Regions from separate parts of the Homo sapiens genome. Here all the other regions are linked to region 2. Evidence: promoter capture Hi-C in 16 types of primary human blood cells and fetal thymus (Javierre and others, 2016). All regions are on one chromosome and are shown on one strand. The core of a region is centred on a gene start or on the middle of the fragment in contact, and the rest is flanking DNA. Distances in the headings are between cores, read along the strand shown. Region 1 overlaps LAMB3 (laminin subunit beta 3). Region 2 holds the start of IRF6 (interferon regulatory factor 6). Region 3 overlaps CAMK1G (calcium/calmodulin dependent protein kinase IG).

The links. Contacts are between HindIII fragments. The CHiCAGO score rates a contact against its expected background, and 5 or more counts as called.
Region 1: a contact is called between a fragment that was not itself captured here and the fragment with the promoter of IRF6 in region 2, in 1 of 17 cell types (neutrophils). The highest score is 7.6, in neutrophils.
Region 3: a fragment that was not itself captured here is called in contact with the fragment with the promoter of IRF6 in region 2 in 1 of 17 cell types (naive CD8 T cells); the score reaches 5.7 in naive CD8 T cells.

What each region holds. Positions count from the first base shown.
Region 1 is chr1:209,631,544-209,634,999 of GRCh38, forward strand. LAMB3 (laminin subunit beta 3) reads right to left here. Exons shown (of 23, transcript NM_000228.3): 6 at 2,904-3,095; 7 at 1,527-1,590; 8 at 1,040-1,233. Among named protein-coding and RNA genes, the nearest start is that of MIR4260, 9.8 kb to the left of the region's middle. The HindIII fragment of the contact is 3,335 bases long and covers 452-3,456 here.
Region 2 is chr1:209,804,559-209,807,850 of GRCh38, forward strand. IRF6 (interferon regulatory factor 6) reads right to left here and starts at 1,584. Exons shown (of 9, transcript NM_006147.4): 1 at 1,389-1,584. RefSeq lists a silencer at 1,506-1,849. The HindIII fragment of the contact is 4,987 bases long and covers 1-2,667 here.
Region 3 is chr1:209,598,228-209,601,645 of GRCh38, forward strand. It overlaps CAMK1G (calcium/calmodulin dependent protein kinase IG), which reads left to right. Exons shown (of 13, transcript NM_020439.3): 3 at 1,756-1,884. Among named protein-coding and RNA genes, the nearest start is that of CAMK1G, 16 kb to the left of the region's middle. The HindIII fragment of the contact is 4,679 bases long and covers 1-3,418 here.

The sequences.
Region 1 (3,456 bases), core at 869-3,368, 170 kb before region 2:
TTAAAATGCCAAGGTCCAGACCCAATTCACTCTGAATCTCAGGGATGAGACCCAGGCAGTGGCACCTTTTAAAAGTGGTGATTCCACTGCATGGCCAGATTTGAGGACCACCAGGGCTGGGTGGCTCCCTCCCACCTCGTCATGTCATAGCATGTTGTATTCCCTCTGTGTCACTCAGCCTTGGGTTCTAGGAGTATGTCTCATGGGCCCTGACAGATGACACACTCCCTGAGCTGGCCTCCCTCTGTACACCTCTGCAGCCTGGGGCAGAATTTGGCCCAGAAGTGGAAAGAAGAATGCCAGCTGAGGCTTGTGCCACCTCTATTTCCCACTCAGGCCATCTTACATGATTTCCTCCTGTCCCCCTGTCACTAGGACAGCTGTCACGCTCCCATGTTGGGTCCCTCTGCTTCTTTGCTCAAGGTTCTCTCTTCTCTACCTGTGGTTCTCAAGCTTGGTTTCACAGCAAAACCCCTTGGGAGGGGAGGGCTTGTTAAACTGGAACGTCTCAAACCCCATCCCTGCTGAAGCCAATCCGCCTGGTCTAGGGTAGACTTAGCATCTGTACTAAACATTGGTCTCTCACCGTGCCCCATATCTCACCACTAGCTGAGACTTTAAAATCCCCAAACCAGTGGCTCTCAGACCTGGCAGTACATTCGAGTCACCTGGGAGCTTTAAAAGCCAATCATAAAATTAGAATATCTTAGGGTGGAGGGCTGGGCAACATTTTTAGCTCTCAGTGAAATTATAATGCATAACGAGGGTTGAGAATCATTGGCTTAAACTCCCTCCCAATTTCCACACTTATGTAAATGAAATGAAAATCATCTCAAATTAGGAAGCAGATCTAAAGAAGTACTAAATGATTCTGATTTTTGGAACGAAAACCACTTCGATTTTTTGTTGTTGCTGCTGAAGTATTAAATACCCAAGTCTTAGATTTAGTGCCCTTCCTGCTTTACAGGAGCCCCAAGAATGTCTGTAGTCTGCCCTGGTCCTGCCCCCTTCCTCTCCCCTTCCCACCCTAGGCTGTTACCTGCACAGCGGTGGAGGGGCCTGCAGAGGCCCCAGGCTTGGGTGCGCAGCGATCAGCATGGCCGTGACAGAAGCAGCTCCCCTGCAGACGGAGCTGGGACACAGCATAGTAGGCGCTGGGAGGGTGGTAGCCCCTTTGGGGCACAGGGGCCAGCCTGGTGAAATTGACTCTCAAGTTTGTGATCTCCCCCACCTCTGAGAGGGCCAAACAGCAAGGAGGGAAGAGTTGGAGAATGGAAAATAAAGAAAGGAAGTTAGAGGCACATAGAGTCTCCTTCATATGTGATACCGTGGGCCATCCTCTCCAGACCTCAACCATCCCATAGCATCCCACAGACAATATCCCTATGGGGCAAGCAGGGCAAGTATCAAATCCCCAACCACGTTGACAAAAACATGAAAGACCAGGAAATTTCCATGACCTGGGCTCCAACTCTGTTTCCTTTCCCACCCATAGTTCCATGGACAAGAGAAGTAACCACACTGACCTTGAATTTTTTGACTTTGAGTTGCTGGAATCCCAGACACTAAATCCATAAGGTTAAGTTGGACCTACAGAGGGAAGGGAAAGAGAAGCGCTGAAGAAGAGACAAATAGTGTGCCCCGAGTTCAGAAGAAACCTTTCTTTCCATTATATGCCTCACACTTGAAGTCCTTGTTACCTGGAACCTGAGATAGACCATGGCTATGAGGCTTGTCATCTGCTGTGGGGGAGAAAGATGATCACTGGGCCCTAAACGTGTGTGTGTGTGTACCCCACCCCCAACCCCTGCCAGTTGAAAATATAAGTATCCTAAGAATTTTCTGAGTTCCCTGGGTCAAAAAGTATGGTAAGATATATCATCTACATATAAGGGTTTAGGAGATACTAATTTTCTGATGACTCAGGATGAGTGAGAAATCTAAAACCCAAGGATGCGTGAATGTGGGTGACCACAGCACTCTGGACAATCCCAGTTTCAACTATGCTTTGATTTATTCAAAAAAAAAAAATCCACTCATCATCTACATATCCCAGGAAGAGTTTTCACATCAGCCCTCCACAAGTTAGGAAAAAGTTCTTATCTGGTGTGTGAAGAATGTAGTTAACATAGATTTGCGTAAGGGTATAACCAAGGAGGAACTGCTAAAACCAAAGGAAGAGTTGCATGGCCTGCATAGAGGGCCCCACTCTGAGCATCGGTCCACATGAGAGCAGCTCTGAGGGCTCACCTGTGTCTCAGCCAGGGAAAGGAGAAGAGAAACTACAGCCTCCTCTGCCAGGGGATGGGGAAACGCAGTTATGAAAGAATTTGACCCACGTTGGGAGGACTTAGGGAGAAACATTCTGAGTTTTTCTTCAGGCAGGTTCTTATTTCTAGCTCAGGGTTTAAGCTCAGGAGAATTCGGGCTCTGGGTTTACCAGAATTCCCTCCAAGGGCTAAGACTGGGTTAGATGGATAGATTAAACTGAAAATGTTTATTTTTGTGTTAAACCCTACCAAGGTGAAATGAAATTTGTGTAATTTGCTCACTTGCATCTAACTAGCATCCCAAAGTCCTCATATCAAAGTAGGGTCGATTTCATCTTCCCACTAGAGGGATGAGCCAATGAGTCACGGGGGAGGGGGCTGTGGAAGACGGCAGGGGTGAGTAATGCGGTGGCCCCAAGGTGTTGCTGAAATATCCTTCCTCAGCAAAGAGGATAAGCAGCAAATGTTTTGAGGGTGGCCACAGGGGTCATTACTGGTGGGAATTCAGGAAAGTCAGCAAGGGGAGCTGGCGAGGGTGTTTCCGTCCCTTCTCAGGAGTCCGTGTGGCTGTGTGAACAGTGGGACATCAGGGATTTCTCCCCAGGCCTACTTTTCAGGATTCCCTCTACCTACCTTCCCCCCATTTAGGCGTGCATTAGGCCTCTGAGGCAGGGACTGGCACCGAACATCCTGCCAGCTCTGAGGCCGACCCTGGCGGACCCGAGGGAAGGTGGAGGTGCAGTCGGCAGCCAGGTACTGGTACACTCGCCAGGTCTTACCGAAGTCTGAGGAGCGCTCAATCAGCATGCCGGCGGGCATGGGCCCCTGTGGAGACAGGGGCAGTGTGCAGAGGGGAGGCACTGGGGCTGTGCCCCGTGGAGACACAAGCAGAGAGACAGGCTCCTCCAGTGAACTCGGGAGAAAGGGGGCCCAGTGGGAGCAAGTGGGCTCGGAGCATCCGGGTCCAAACCTCCTGGCATACCACAGGCCACAGAAGTTTCTCCCAGGATCTGCCTTCCAGGAGTGATCCCTAGCTCAGCTCACCAGGCTTCCAGGATAGACATTTCTCTGCTCCTACACTTCGCACAGTTGACCATTTTTTATTCTCTCTCTCTCTCTCTCTCTCTCTCTCTCTCTCTCTCTCCTCTCTCTGTCTCTCTCCTGGAACTCATGTCCAGCCTCCTCT
Region 2 (3,292 bases), core at 334-2,833:
AACTCATCTTGGTATCTCTAGCTGCCATCACAGCAAAATGTAAGGCCTGTGTCTCTAACAGGTACTTAAACAGCCAAAGGACAATGATGCTAACCTATCTATTCCCCTCACAGTGAGCATAGAGGAGGGACACTTTCAGCCTCCTCCGAGCATAACTGTCCTCTCCCATACCCCTATTCTAGGGAGCAGGTCCTCCATAAACACCCTCATTGCCACCTCCATAGCTCCTCCCCAGACTAGTTTCCAGGGGCACTGCCACACAAAAGCCGAGATTTGGCCGTCAGTGGTTTTGCTCAGGTTAAAACACACGCCATTTCTCGCAGACAATTCTTAGCAGTCCCAGCTCTTCCCTTTCTCCTGAAAGAAATGAAATGCCATCGTCTAAGTTCCGTTCCTCAGGCTTCCCTGTTTAGCCCTGCTTAGGGGTAAACTGCAGGCCTCTAGTCAAAATGCCCACACCCTTCCCTTCTGCTGGATGGAAGCTGGGGGATGGCGAATGGGAGTTACAAGGTATTGAGTGCCACTGTCATACATCATACACACGTCTCATCCTAAACCACACTCCTGGGTCAACACCAGCTTTCACCAATCCCACCCAAGCGCCTTCCTCTCTCTATCCATCTCTTTTCCCTGACTTCCACTCTTGACATCCACCAAGAGAACAGGTTGGAACAGGATGACCCCTTTACCACAAAGCAGGCTCCCTGTAAAGAGTGACACCTCAGGCCTCCTTTCCAAGTCAGGCCTGGGAGACTTTCCCCATTCTCCACACCACCCTCCAGCCCCTTCGGGCAAAGAGGGCCCACCCCCAGAGCAACCACACCCCAGCGCCACCCTCCCCAGCACCTAGCTCCGCTCCTTGGAAATCCAAGGTTGTCTCCCAGGCCCAGGGCGAAGGGCCTAACTGTGCCAAACAGACTCAGGGAGGGAAGACAAACCGCCAATGCTCCAAAGCTCCTGGCCACCCTCACTCCAGTTTCCCAAAACGCCCACTAGGATCAAGGACCTGCGGACCTGGGAAGTCCCCTCTCTGGGACACAGGGGCCAGCCGCAAGTTGGTAAGACTGAAGGGGGCGCGGTGCTTTAGCTCTACCGGATAGTGGGGTTGTTGACGGCCGAGAGCAGTGCCCTCCGCTTCGGCGGTGGGGGTAGGGAGAGTAGACACAAGTGTAGATTCGAGAGGGGCCTAGCGCTACAGAACTGAGGCCGCCCCAAAGCTATCTGGAAAAGGGCGACAGGCACCCAGCCCCAGTGGGTACCCACCCCAAACACACAGATGCCCCCAAGCAAGTTCTCTCACCCCCTACAAACTCCGGGGATGGGTCCTACCCCACCCACGGGGGAGCCTCTCCTCCCTCAAGCTGGTCCCCAGAAGTTGGCGTACCCACCTTTGCTCAATCTGTCCACCAGAAGCGGACGTCCCTCCGAACCAAGTCCGCAGCGAAGATCACCCGTCGCTACCACGCTCCTCGACGTCTTAGCCAAGGGGCGCCTGGCTCTACCCAAGTAGGGACTGCAGGTTCCTCTCCCCGTCCCGCACCAGCCCTTACCTGCCCAGCCCAGGTGCGCCGAGCTCACGTCAGCGCCTCGCCCCAGGACGCCGCAGCCTTCGCATCCGCCCGGCCACGCCTCCCAGGTGTGGCCACGCCCCCCGGCGTTCGGGATTGGCGAGTTGCAAGAAATATGACACTCCGCGTTTCTGGGCTGCCCGGCCCAGCGGCGTCCGTCCAGCGTCCCACCCTACTCCTCCGCTTCTAACTCCGGCTAAGAAAGTCCCAGATTCAGGCCTAGCCTTACGGCTCAGGGCTGGTGGTCCTGGGAACTGGAAGCGACTGGGAGTTCAGATCTAAGTCGAGAGGGTGCCTCCCTCCTTCACGGCCCATAATTACCCTGCAGTATGCAGACAGTTAAGCACAAATAAGGGTTTTGAGATTCTGGGTTGGCCCTACTACTCGTGGGCCTGTGTAAGTGGAGTTGCACATGAAGAAGAGAACCAGGACACTTGGTCCTGTCTGGGAGAAGCCATAGGCTTTCAGGACTAGAATTCTACCTTTACTCTGCCTCTTACCCGTGTGACCCTGGGTAAGTTACTTAGCTTCTTGGCTTCTTGGTTTCAGTTTCCTCATCTCTTCAATGAGAATAATAATTCCTTCCTTCTTTTTTGTTGTTGTTTGCTTTTTTCTCTTTCTTTTTTCTTCCTTTTTTTTTTTTTTTTTTTTTGGAGATGGGGTCTTGCTATTAAGTTACACAGTCTGGTCTGCAACACCTGGGCTCAAGGGATCCGCCTCAGCCTCGCAAAGTGCTGGGATTACAGGCACTGGCACCCAGTTCAATTCCTTTTTTTTTTTTTTTTTTTTTTTTTAGGCAGGGTCTGGCTCTGTCATCCAGGCTAGAATGCAGTGGCACAATCATAGCTCAACCTCCTGGGCTCAAGCAATTATCCCACCTCACCCTCCCAAGTAACTGGAAATATAGGCATGGGTCACCATGCCCGGCTAATTTTTTTTTTTTTTTTTTAGAGACAGGGTCTGACTATGTTGCCCAGACTGGAGTTCCTGCTTCCTCTGATCACTATCGTGTAATGAGTAAAAGCATAGCCTCTGGAGCCAACTATTGGGGTTTAGACCCCAACTCCATCAGTTACTACAGACTTGGGAAAGTTTCTTAAGCTTTTTAGGCCCTGGTGTCTTATCTGTAGAAAGAGGTTAGTAATAGTACCTACCTCAGGGGTATTGTGGGAATTCAATAACTACATGTAAACTGCTTGCAACAATATTTAGCACTTATCAAGTGCTTTATATGTACTTGCAATTATTATTGGCATAAAGATTAAAAATACCATATAGACAGTGCGTCAGAGAACAAGAAGGCATTCCTTGTTATTACCTGAAATTCAAGTCCTGCATGTACCCTAACAGGTGCTTGATGAGATTGCCCTCACCTTCCTCATCTATCTAGAGGACCGGTTTGCAGGAGGCTGTGCAACAGTAAATGAGACTTTTAAAAATCCCCCACCCTCAACCACTGAGCTGTCGTAGGTGAAATGGGGCATGCGCAGGTCACTTAGGTTTTGGTGTTTAAAGTAATGAGTGAGAAACTGTGGAGGAGTGGTACAATGAGTTGAACTGTCACCCACATACAAAAAAATTTGTATTTGTATTTTGAAGTCCTGACCACCCCCACTGCAACCACAGCCAGATGTCAGAATATGACCTTATTGGGAGACAGGATCCTTATGGAGGTAATCAAGTTAAAACGTGGTTATTAGGGTGAGCCTGAATCCAATATGAAT
Region 3 (3,418 bases), core at 809-3,308, 210 kb before region 2:
CAGAGCCTGCCTCAGAGACTGCTAGGTTCTCTCTTTTGTCTTTGCAGATCCTACTGAATGAATGAGAGGTTGCTCAGCACCCTGGCCTCTGATAACTGGTACAGAGTGATCACCACCACCTAAAATTGAGAGACGAGTCTTTTTGTTCTCACTGTATCTGCACTCTGTCCCATCTGCTACCTCCAGCTGCCACTCCAGTGTGCCATCCTGAGTCACATTGAAAGTGGCATGAATTGACTCTGTAGTGGCTTCTTTTTAGTGGGCATGCCAAGTGAAGAAATCTCTCCACAGCTGCAGTGGAGTCTCTGTCTCTAGGGGTCATTCCCAAACTATAGAACCAGGAAATAACACCTGCCTAGCCCCTGAATCTGTGGTGGCATCTTTTTCTTCCAATATGGTCTTCAAATTAGAAAGCACATTAGCATGTCAGATACAACTGCCATCAACATAACTCAGCAGCGCCCACATGACAATGAAGAGTAATTATCAGTCCTTCCCTCATCTACCCTTTCACTTTGCCTCTAAGTTTGATTGTTTAACTTTTTAGTTGGAAATAATTTCAAACTTAGAAAAACGTTTCAAAAATAAGAATAACGCCAGGCTTGGTGGCTCATACCTGTAATCCCAACGCTTTGGAAAGCCAAAGGAGAAGAGCTGCTTGATCCCAGGAGTTCAAGACCAGTTTGGGCAACTGGGTTAGTCTATTTTTATACTGCTATGAAGAACAGCTTGAGACTGGGCAATTTATAAAGGAAAGAGGTTTAATTAACTCACAGTTCAGCATGGCTGAGGTGGCCCCAGGAAACTGACAATCATGGCAGAAGGTGAAGGGGAAGTAAGGCACCTTCTTCACAAGGCGGCAGGAAGAAGTGCCAAGCAAAGGGGGAAGAGCCCCTTATAAAACCATCAGATCCCGTGAGAACTCACTCACTATCCTGAGAACATCATGAGGGAAACTGCTCCCATGAGCCAATCACCTCTACCTGGTCTCTCCCTTGACACATGGGGATTATGAGGATTATGGGGATTATAATTCAAGATGAGATTTGAGTGGGGACACAAAGCCTAACCAGATCAGCAACATAGTGAAGCCCCATCTCTAAAAAAATAATAAAATAAAATAAGAATAAGAATGGTAGAAAGAATTTCCAAATGCCCCCTGCCCAGATTCACCTCTTGTTCACAATTTCTCCCATCTGCCTTCTCATTGCTATGTTCTCTGTAGATCTGTAGAGATAGATGTAGAAAGATGATTCTTTCCTAATCTCCCAAGCGTTAGTTGTGGACAGACATCATGAACCTTTACCTATCAAGGACATTTGTGTATATTTCTAGGGATGGGGTATTCCCTTACGTGACCATAGGACAGTTCTCAACTTCAGTCAATTGAACATGGACACATTAAGTGTACCTAGTCTGTCTTCCCTACTCCAGTTTTATCAATTGACCCTATTATGTGTTTTATAGCATTTTTCCCCTCCAGTACAGGTTCCAGTCTAGGGTCTGATATTTCACTTGGGTGTTATCTCTCCCTAGCTTTTTTATGACATTGGCATTTTGGAAGAATACAGGTTCCCCCCTTCCCTTTTTTAAATTTTGTGCTTTCCTGATGTTTCTTCCAGATTTAAATTCAGTATATGCCTTTGTGGTCAGAGGACTATATAGACTCTGTTACGTCCTTTCTGAGGTCTTACATCTGGAAGTGTAAGATGTCTGCCCCCTACTAAGTTTTATCTTTTGGTGTCTTCTCCTCAGAGGAGCTTTCTCAGAAGTTTTCCTGGTGAAGCAAAGACTGACTGGGAAGCTCTTTGCTCTGAAGTGCATCAAGAAGTCACCTGCCTTCCGGGACAGCAGCCTGGAGAATGAGATTGCTGTGTTGAAAAAGTGAGTGGGTCTTAGTGTTGACTGGATCACTATGGGATCACAACATTTTCTTCACAAATTACCTTCAAAAAGGACTAGGACTGGATTTCTGCACCCAAAGGCATTGCTCACTTTGATTGAGTTGATGGGTCAGTTCAGTCAATTAGCTAAGTTTAGTCGGACAGCTGTCCTAGCTGATTTTTTTTTTTTTGGCAACAAATTGATGAGCAAATCCACTGGTGGCAGAACTGGTTTGTGCACACAGGCTGGAGAGTAATTAGCTCAAAGGAACAAAAATCAATTGAGGGCCAACATCAGGAACAATTAATAATTAAGGAGGCAGCATAAGATTTGGAAATTAGCTTCAATTTATAACAAAGCAAATGGAGGTTCAGCACCCCAACCATCTTGATGAAGGCAACACTACAAATCATCATATGTTTACAGCAAGACTCTTACCACAGACCCTTGTGAAACCCTTATGGTGTACCAAAAGTGTATTAGGCACATGAACACAGGATCAGAACCACAAGGATGAGGCAGACAAAATTCCTTACCCTCAGGAGCCTATGCTGGATACAGAGGTGCCTATAAGAAAATCCAACAAAATCGGATGTGAGTCACACTAGCAGAAGGCAGAGTTTGGAGGAGATAAAGATTCATTTTGCCTATGCATATGTTTTTATGAGTATGAGTTATTGGACCACTTTCAAAGAAGATGGACCTTGATAGATGAGTCAAACTTTGTGGGGGCAAGAAAGGCAATGCAGAAAGGGAATTCAGGCCAAGACTAGCATAAACTTTAATGTAGAACCATGAAAGTGCAAGGGCTTTTAGGGAAGAGTGAGTATTGGAAATCCCTGAATTTAGAGTATATAGTATTAAAAGACAAGTGATGAAACTAAAATCATGAAATGAGACCTGATTACAAAGGATCTTAGATGCCATGATAAGGAATGTTGGCTTTATTCTGTGGGCAAAAAGAAGTCATCAAAGGATTTTAAGTGAGGAGTCACATTGTCTGATTAACATGTTGGAGCTATCCCTCTCAGGCACAGTGGAGGATGGATTGGAGGGTGCCAGCCTAGAGGACAGGAGGCTAATTATAAGACTTTCACAATAATTTAGGCATGGGTTGAGAATACAAGCAAAGGTAGTGGCAGAATCATATGTGCCTAAAAGGACTAGATACTAGAGATGTTTCAAAGAGAGAAGTGATTGGGTTTGGGGTTGACTAGTGAAAGTATACAGGACAAAAGCATAAAAAGAGACCCTGAGATTGAGCAATCAAGTGGACAACAATATAATTGCTAGGGGTGGAGAACAAAGAGGATATGTAGGCTTGGATGAAATAGAAAGAAATTGGTTGGAACATACTGAATATGAGTATCCACCTATCTCAACATGAAGGCATTTCATAACATGCTGGAGACACAGGTCTAGGATCCAGGGATATTAGGGCAAAGAAAGACTCTCAACTAATTGAGAGCAAGGACCATGTCATTTTTCTTATTATTGCCTTGTATCAACAGTATTTGTGCTCAATAAATGTTTG